Regions from separate parts of the Homo sapiens genome. Here all the other regions are linked to region 3. Evidence: promoter capture Hi-C in 16 types of primary human blood cells and fetal thymus (Javierre and others, 2016). All regions are on one chromosome and are shown on one strand. Each heading gives the region's core, a stretch centred on a gene start or on the middle of the fragment in contact. The rest is flanking DNA. Distances are from core to core; before and after follow the strand shown. Region 1 overlaps MICAL3 (microtubule associated monooxygenase, calponin and LIM domain containing 3). Region 2 overlaps MICAL3 (microtubule associated monooxygenase, calponin and LIM domain containing 3). Region 3 holds the start of PEX26 (peroxisomal biogenesis factor 26).

Region 1 (2,778 bases), core at 146-2,645, 290 kb after region 3:
CCACACAGGCCAAGAGGGTGCAAGGTGGGACCCTGGAATCATGTGGCTGGTGAGAATTCCCTCCTCCCAGCCTAAGATTCACCCAGACGGAAACGCGAGTGCTGCAGTGGATGCTGGGATGCAGGCTGGTGCCTCTCAAGCAGATCAGCGACTCCCGCCCTTCCTTCCGAAGGCGACGGGCACCTGCCTTGTGCCGGATCTTCATGGGGACATAAAGGGCGAGCCCCGAATCACTAGCTCCTATAGCCAAACTGTTCCTTTCTCACGGTTCCGCACCAGCCTGGCTGTGTACAGCTCATCAAGCCACTGAGCTAATCGGGGTGGGGTGCTTGTCCATCAAAGCAGTCAGCACATAGCCCAGCGAGGAGCCATCCGGACCAGACCCGCCTGCCAGGGGCGCTCCAGCCGCCTGCCGCCTCCGTGGGCTGGGGCCAGCTGGGAGCAGAGGCCTGGCCCCTCCAAGGCGTCCCGCAGTGGAGCAGGCTGAGTGGCTGTGCTGACCTTGGGCTTTCCATGGGAACCACACTGTGCTTCAACTTGAACATTCATCCCAGCTGCAAAGGAGCAAAGAACCTGTGTCATCCTTGTCTGTCCAGAAGCTGCCATCTCTCTCCCATGCACATCCGGGAGATAACGCCGCTAGTGGCCGCCACAGCGCTGATTCTCCACCTGTTCTCACGTGAGGCAAAGGTCTCCTTTTCTTTTCTCTTTACTTAAAAAAGGGGAGAGGAGGGTTTCTAGATTCCATCTTCAAACCCCAGTCGTCCCATAAAATTGGACGTGGGAAAAGACCTTCACTGCCTGCGTGGCCTTTCCCAGACCTCTCCTCGAATGCCACAAAACCGGTCCAGCCCCGGCAGAGCCGCCTTCGGCCCTTGTAGCTCCTGCTGGCCCCACAACAGGGAAACAGTTTGCAAAGTGGCTTGGAAGGAGTGTGGCCTAGGGATCTGCTGTAAGTGGCCAGACGTAGCAGGAGAGCCCAGTGTCACCTTCTGGTCCTGGTCAGCCTTAACACTGTGGCATCCTCCACAGCACACACGGCAGCCTGCAGTCTGGAAGGTGGACCCGAGCCTTTGCAGAGAGGCGCCGCAGAGCCGCAGGCCTGCGCCCCAGCCTTCTGCTCCCGACTGTGAGGACACCCAGTTCTAGTAGAGCACTTTTTTTAAAGCTCCCATTTTGTAACCACTAGTTTGCGGTTGACTTGAGTACTCTGGTGACTTCCTGCGTCAAGCGTTCTCAAGCTGTGAGAATGTGCGCAGCTCCAGGCAGGTTTTCTCTCGGAGAGTTAAGTCTTCCCTTGAAGGCAGGGAAGCAGGATGGATACACATATATCACACGCATAAAACACCAGGTGCGGGAGCAGCCCAGACTCAAGGCTGACTAAACTGGAGGCTGAATACCGTGGAGGTCCACATGCAGCTTCCCTGGAGGGCAGGCCGGAGGCGCTCCCGCCCCTGGGCTTGAGGATGCTGCACCCCGTGGGCTTCCAGGCCTGCCCAGATGATGCCTTCAGGCCTCTGTCCCTGGCGGCCATCCTCAGGCCGATTTTGACCAGCAATGATAGACTCTTCTTAACCCTTTCAAAATAAATTTTTCAGTGGGACAGAAAGGAGAGTTAAAAAACATTTTTTTAAAGGTGGTAACATCTGACCCACAAAGGGAATGGGTCTGTTTTATGCAAAATAAAAGTTTTTCAAATAAATAGTGTGTTTCTTAAGTCATTTTACTGTATTTTTCAGGTGGATGGTGTAGGTGCAAGGTATGACGCATCTAGCTCGTGCCTGGGTGCGTGCAAGACGGTTTAAAGAATACATGGTTTTTTTTAAGTTCGTGCTTTTTTTTAGTCCTCCATAATATCCTGGCTCAGCCACAACTGCTGTCACTTGAGTAAATGTCTTAGGCAGCCAAGTTTGAGAAGCAGCCACTCTTCAGACGAAGCCCCAGTAGCTTCTGGAAGGGAAGTGTGCTCTTTGAATTGGAGATACTCTGAGTCAGGGTGATGCTGTGGTCCTGGCAGCCCTCCTTCCAGCCCTGCCTGGCTCTGTCCTGCAGCACAGCTGACCCGGGAGTCCATGGCATGGGGTCTGCAGCACCCACGCCTAAACCTTTCAGATGTTTCAACGATCTCGAGGTCATTCAGTGCGTAGGGTCACTGCTCGTTAGCCTGAAAATTGTCCCCAGGAGATTACAGGGAACAGTCCTGGCCAGCTCCTCTTTCTTTGTTCTAAGAAGCCTCCGAGGCACGCCCCAGCTGTCTCTCTAACCCCTCCCTCGGTGTGTTGCATTGTTGGGAGCACGGCTGACCCTGTGACCATCCAGGGGCGCCATGCAGGGAGGGAAAGACCGCAGCAGCTCTGTGCACGTGAGCCACACCGCCTACAGGCAGCTAGAAGCCACTCAGTGGAAGCTGGCTCCCAGTCCTTCCAGCTGCGTTCCCAGCTATTCCAGAACAAAGAAAGGCCTGGCTGGGACAAATGTGGGCGTGTCAGGTAGAACAGAGGACAAAAATGGATGAGCAGCTCAAAGTGCATATCCTGTGGCCCTAGAGGACATCCCGTACAAGGAGAGCTGGGTCACTTGCCTGTTGGGAAAGGAAATGGGGCTTGGTAGTCACCTGACCCCCAGGCTCTTGTTCCTCAGAAGGGCTTGCTTGTCAGAGCTGCACCAGGCAGCCTTGGGCTGCAGTTCACAGCCACCTCAGGTGGCAGGAAATGATAAGTATTGCTTTAGGGAGGACACCAGAAAGGAAGGCTGCTGGGCCAGGCCAGAGCCACTGTC
Region 2 (3,139 bases), core at 278-2,777, 270 kb after region 3:
CACAGCAAATCTAACAGCAGTTCCTATTCCTCATGACAAGCAAGTCTCAAACAAGAGGCTCCCAAACAAAGTAAACAAAAACCCAGCCATGCTGTAATACCGCAGCAAAACGTGTTACCCACCTACATAAAGGGACTCGCTGACAGGCGTGCGTGCTGTCAGTGAGCTGTAGCTCTCCCGGACAGACCCTGAACGGTGGCAGGTGAGCACTATGCTGCAGGCCAGAATTTAAATAAACAAATGAATAAAATGTCCTCTTCACTAACACATTTACAGGGAGTTCAGCCACTTACACACAGAGAGAGGCGGAAACTTGATCCTGAGGGCTCCACAAAATCAAGCTCACCTGGCAGCACAAATTATTGGGTTGATGGTCTCCAGTGGGTGAAAAGTTGGCATATAAAACATTTGGGCCGGGCGCGGTGGCTCACGCCTGTAATCCCAACACTTTGGGAGGCCGAGGTGGGCGGATCACCTGAGGCCGGGAGTTTGAGACCAGCCTGACCAACATGGAGAAACCCTGTCTCTACTAAAAATACAAAAAATTAGCCTGGCATGGTGGTACATGCCTGTAATCCCAGCTACTCGGGAGGCTGAGGCAGGAGAATCGCTTGAACCTGGGAGGTGGAGGTTGCGGTGAGCCGAGATCACGCCATTGCAGTCCAACCTGGGCAACAAGAGCGAAACTCTGTCTCAAAAACAAAAACATTTGAAGGTGGTGTGTCTTATTTTAATAAGGGCTCTTGAAAGAGCTACAAGTATTTGTACATCAGGTATTTGGGAGACCCCTTGGAATGCCTTTGGAAGAACCTTAGGGTTCCACAGAGGCTTGAAAACCACTGTCGTAGTGCAAACTCCTTCCTTTAGATGAGTCTTCAGCAGATATCTCTATCCAAAGATGTTTCTGTTCTGTTTTTCAAGATGGGCCTTAGTAGCTCTGTTGGGATATTTCGTTGTGATGCATTTGAGAAACTCTCTGGAATTTTCAGGAATTATGGTTCCTACCATAAGAATATAAGAATTTCCAAATATGTTCCTTCTCTTACGTGAATACATCCCTTCCAAGCTGGTCTCCCATCACAGTTCCCCGTGGCCCTGCCCCTCCTTGGCCGATGCCGTCTCTGAAGCCCAGGTGTGCGTGCTGCTGCTGCTTTCTCTCCTGCTTCTGCGTCCCGTTCCTCTTCTTAGTCTTGTGGCACCTGGCTGAGCCCTGAAGAAGGCAGTGGCAGCTGGGCATGATAATAATCTGGAGTCTTCTCATCATGGCAGTCTGCCCTTCCCTGGGGACTGTAGTAAACTGGCTGGAACCTGCCATCATCTCACTTGGGGGTCTCCAGCTTCCATCACCGTCTGAGGGCGTCAGACTTTGTTAGCCAAGCTGCCTTTCCAGAGAAGCGCTCTAGCATGGACCTGCCATCCCGTTCTCCGTTTGTCTAAGGTATGACGACGTATGGCCAGGCTGCAAGGATTAGCTTCAGCACCTTTGATCCTAGGGCCAGGCCACAACTTAGGTAATTTCCAGTCCTGGGGCACCTGGGAAGCCTTTTTGTTACAAAAACACTGACTCAGCCTTGAGCATGCATTGAAAAACTGGGGCAGGACCGCATTCTACCACTGTGTCTGCTGTGTCACTCTCAAGGGGAGGCCCTCAGGTGGGACCGGAGGCTGTGAGGATCTGCATTCAGAATGCGGGGTTTGGAGAGAGGGCAACACCATGGCGGCCGAGTGCTGTGCTCTGTGTGTCTTTATGATTCTGGGGAGATGAGGACCGCCTGCTCAAGCCCAGCCTCTCGGCAGTGCCCAGTCTGCATCTCAGGCGTGGAAATTACATAGCGCTCTTGGCCAGACAGCTGTGGAACTACCAGGCTAGGAGTGCCCCAGGCCAGCACACCTCCAGGAGCCTTCGGCCGAGTGCCTGGGGGAAGAACTCTGCATGAGTCTCTGCTCGTTTCCTGTTGTTAAGAAGGCCGACTGAATTTGGAGGCCTAAGCCTCGAAACAGGATCCCCTTTCTCTCAAACCCATTCGGCAAAAGTGGGTCTGCAAGGCATTTGATAGAGTCAGCAGTGGGGTCGTGGGAATTCCTGGGAGAGCACTGACTGCACGAAACCTAAGGATTTCAGAGCTTCTGTAGGACGTTTGCCTCCTGCCTCCAGGCCCTCAGCCTGGGGCTTCCAGTATCAGCAACTGACACGCAGGCAGCCCCGCTCTATTAACTCTTAGTTAGAGAAGGTTCAGTCCCAGGGGCAGGAGTTCCCAGCAAAGCCAAAGCCTCTGTCCTGGCTGATCCCTGGTGTACGTGGGATCATGTTGATAGTGACCATTGACTCCCCACAGTGAGTTTTAGTTACCGCCCTCCTCCCGCAGCCACGCAGTATGCAGATACGGCATGTGTGGACATGCAGTATGTGATGCACTTAGGCACGCATGCCTTCCAGCCGTTCCTCTGCCGCCTCGCTGTGTCTGTGTTTCTTGCGCTCCATATCATTGATTGCTCCATATCATATCATTGATTGGGTATGGGGGGACAGGAGGACTACCTGATGGAATAACTCTCTCTTCACCGATTCCTTGTTGTAGACTATTGGGGAGAGTCTTATTACAGTGACCTCATCGACTTGCATCTGGGTGGTATGTATGGCAGCGCCTGTGCTGACACTAACCCCGCTGACGCCCTTTCTCCACCCACGCTTCCCAGTCCCTGCTCACAAAAACAAGGAGAAATCAACCCAATAACCAAATGGCAAAAGCACAGACCCTTTTCCAGCTCAAAACAGAGCAGCGTGCTGATCTCCCCGCTGCCCACATGTGCTCCAGAGGAAGATCTGAGCTTGCTTTTGCTGCCTGGGGTCGTTTTTAATTTTTTATAATAAAACTTTGCCCACCCGACTCCACCAGCCTTGCATCTGCGTCCTGGTCCCCTAAATACACACACTCCAACACAGCTTTTGCCCTGAATCTCATCCCTCACTGCTTGTAGGAATCATATCTGCTAGGGAGCTCACTGCCTGCCACACTTACGCAAAGAAGCAAACATGCCAAGATCTCAGCCCGACCATTTTCACTGGGTCGTGGTCTCGTTTCTCCCAGAAGAGCTGAGTGCGAGGGAAAGGCTTCTCTGTAGTGATTTCTGCCCGGAG
Region 3 (2,953 bases), core at 235-2,734:
CCATAGCTGGCTAAAAGGCACCACCTAGTAAGGTTCCTCCAGACACCCAGAAGCAAAGCCTTCTGCATTCACTGAAATGAGCTCCCACCCAGTCCCCTAAAACACAGCCAGGGCTCTCCAGATCATCCTTCTTTGTGGTCAACTTTAGCTATTCTACCTACCACCTCCCTAGCGTGGCCTAACCCAAGTTTACAATGCAAAGAAATGACTCCCTCACCTGCCAGACGAGGCTGGTGGCATTAGAAAGAGCAATGCAAGCCCAAGGTTTTTTTCTCCGGATTCTTTTCTTTTTCTTCTTTTTGGTAGAGAAGAGGGCTCATTATGTTACCCAGGCTGGTCTCGAACTCCTGGGCTCAAGCAATCCTCCTGCCTCGGCCTCCCAAAGTGCTGGGATTACAGGCGTAAGCCCCAGCTCCCGGCCCTGAATTAATTCTTTAATCCAGTCCTCTAATTGGACCAGAACGCTGCTCCTGCCATGACCCCCATTCCCCATCATCAGCCAAGGTCAGGAATAAACAACCTTGGGCGGGGCGGGGAGGGCGGAGGTACCTGGGAGAGGACTTTTACCACCTGCTTACTGACAGAACTTAGCACTTAATACACATTCAGCCTTCCCATCATGTCATTGTACCTTGGAACAAGGAGCAAATAATTGGCTGTGGGATCCCCACTAAGTTTTTGTTACACGACTTCCCTTCTCTGTAGAATGGGCACACGATGAGCGACCACCCTCTCGGAGACAAACCACTGATGAAAGCGAGGTGTAAAGCTCCTTGTGGGCAATCTGGGAAGGACAGAACTCCTGAGACCTTGAGCCCCACCACAAGAGCGCCCGGAAATCGGTTCATTTCCGAGCCCAGCACGTACGTGCCCGCGGGTTCCTCTGCCACGGCGTGGTTGGCCAGACTCTGCCAGGCCCGCTCGCAGGTCTCCAGCGCCGCCCGGAAGTCCAGGTGCACCACCAGGAGGTCGGCCGCCTCCTCCAGAAGGTCCACGGCCGGCGCCCGGGCCGGGACCGCGCGCACCGGCTCGCTGCTGCGCAGGGGTCCCCCGAGCCCCCTGAGGGGGGCTGCAGAGGTCGAAGAATCGCTCTTCATAACGAGTCCGGGTCCAAGGCCCAGGTCCTCAGACGTCGGAGTGACCGCCTCCCCAGAGGCTCCGGGATATCCCGAGTTGGCCTGGGCGAAGAGGGAGAGTCCTCATCTCTTTGCCCACACCCCTTCCCGAGGTCGATTCCCCGAGAAGGAAAAGGAAGGGGCCTATCTGAGGCAAAAGCTGGGCTCGCCTGGAGGCTGGGGAAGCAGTTTACACGTCAGATTTGCAGGATTCTTGCATCCCTGGAATACCTGGCCCTAGCTTCTCCGGCCCCGCGACACGTGCAGGAACTGCCTCAGCTCCGGGCTCCTGGTTACGATCAAAGACTCACCTCGCCTCCCGGCAGCGGGCGCGGACATCTTTGCGCTCGCCCAGCCCCGCAGCCGCGCGGCGTCCCGGCGGCGCGGAGTACTCTAGGAGTTGTAGTTCCTCAGCTCTCGGCCCATCGCCTTCTGTAATGGAAGTAGGAGGCAGAGCGCGGACTACAACCCCCAGCACGCCGCGCCCCGGAAGCCGCCCCTGTGCCGTGAGAAAACAAACTGGTGCTACAGCTTCGGGGTGCGGAAGTCAAAACGAAGCAAAACCGAAGCTGTCTTGTGAAATGGAGGGGTCCTCACTAACCAGTTCCAGCGGAGGCTAACGGAAGAAGTGCCAGCAATGGATGTGCAGCTACATGCACGCTTTTAATTCAGAGCTTCTGCGACGGTGGCGATCAGGGGATCTGTAATGTAATGTAATGTCAAGGCTGACGCAGAGCTGATCAAACATTTTGGCAACCTTAGTCTTGAATTGATTCACACTTTCTCCGCGTTGCCTCCGGAGTTTGCTGTAGGGTAATGAATATTGCCTGGTGAGGATGAGGGACTTAGGGTGGAAACCTTCACAAGGACCACTGAGAATATGTTGGTCCCAAGGGCAATGTTCCAAAATGAATAGTGACCCCACCGAGGCGGGGTTGGGGGCGCTGAGCATAAGGGCCTCATTTTTCTCACTGCTCTCTGCCCCATCCTGAATTTGCTGTTAAAAAACAACGTTAAATGCAGATACCAATTCCACTTCCCCACTGTTGTCACTTCCGATCTGTCTTTATATTTCTCCTTATCATTTATCACCATCTACATACCAATGTCTATATTTTACTTATTTTTATTGTCTATTTCCTTCCACTATGATATAAACTCACAAAGGCAGACGTTTTTGTCTCTTTTGTTCACTGTGGGAACCTCAATGCCTTGAACAGTGCCTGTCATCTATAGGTAGTCAAAAAGTATTTGTGGAATAAATGAAGTCCTGGTTTCACTTTTATCTGGTTACAGGGTCCAGACTTCTCTTTCCTCGGAGTCTGGTGGACTTGGTTCTGCCTCAGCTTCCCATGCAGACTTTTCTGCAAGAGAACGGAAATCCCAGAAGATGGATGTGTGCATGTCTGGTGACAAGGGCAGGGGATGTATGATGTGAGCAGGTGCCTGTTTAATCTAATTTCTAGGAGAGCAAAGATTCTAGGGAAGCTTTGGAGTGAATTCAAAGGGTAGAGAACTGGGGAGAAACTAAAGCCAAGAGGATCTAGTACAAATGTGGGAAGCTTGGCAAAGCCCGGGTGAAACAGAATATAATAATAAGTGTGATTTGTGGATCTGTTTAAAATTATTATTATAGTTACAATTTACCAAATACTCTGTTCCCAGTACTTTACTATAAAGTGCATTATGTACGGTATGGTTTTGTTTTTCACAATGTCCTTATTTTACATTGTGTAACTTGCTCATGGAATGACTGTGTATCCCCTGAATAGCAAACATACTTAGTTCTGTCCCTGCAGAGCAGAGTAGAGCTCAATACACATCTTTGAACCAAAAGA

What was found. The method cuts DNA at HindIII sites, captures the fragments that hold promoters and counts their contacts. A CHiCAGO score of 5 or more calls a contact.
Region 1: a fragment that was not itself captured here is called in contact with the fragment with the promoter of PEX26 in region 3 in 16 of 17 cell types (megakaryocytes, erythroblasts, endothelial precursors and 13 more); the score reaches 17.1 in megakaryocytes.
Region 2: a contact is called between a fragment that was not itself captured here and the fragment with the promoter of PEX26 in region 3, in 15 of 17 cell types (erythroblasts, total B cells, naive B cells and 12 more). The highest score is 16.5, in erythroblasts.

What each region holds. Positions count from the first base shown.
Region 1 is chr22:17,786,573-17,789,350 of GRCh38, reverse strand. MICAL3 (microtubule associated monooxygenase, calponin and LIM domain containing 3) reads left to right here. Exons shown (of 32, transcript NM_015241.3): 32 at 1-1,702. Among named protein-coding and RNA genes, the nearest start is that of LINC00528, 11 kb to the right of the region's middle. RefSeq lists a silencer at 618-830 and enhancers at 2,689-2,738, 1,259-2,778. The HindIII fragment of the contact is 7,814 bases long and covers 1-2,778 here.
Region 2 is chr22:17,803,302-17,806,440 of GRCh38, reverse strand. The region is part of intron 29 of MICAL3 (microtubule associated monooxygenase, calponin and LIM domain containing 3); the gene reads left to right. Among named protein-coding and RNA genes, the nearest start is that of LINC00528, 28 kb to the right of the region's middle. RefSeq lists enhancers at 790-1,628, 1,629-2,469, 1,464-2,663. The HindIII fragment of the contact is 3,985 bases long and covers 1-3,139 here.
Region 3 is chr22:18,076,521-18,079,473 of GRCh38, reverse strand. It overlaps PEX26 (peroxisomal biogenesis factor 26), which reads right to left and starts at 1,484. Exons shown (of 5, transcript NM_001127649.3): 1 at 868-1,484. The coding sequence starts at 1,097. LOC105372853 (a long non-coding RNA gene) reads right to left here. Exons shown (of 6, transcript XR_001755424.2): 6 at 1,578-1,816. RefSeq lists enhancers at 661-710, 1,191-1,420, 1,751-1,810 and a silencer at 1,071-1,120. The HindIII fragment of the contact is 13,258 bases long and covers 1-2,605 here.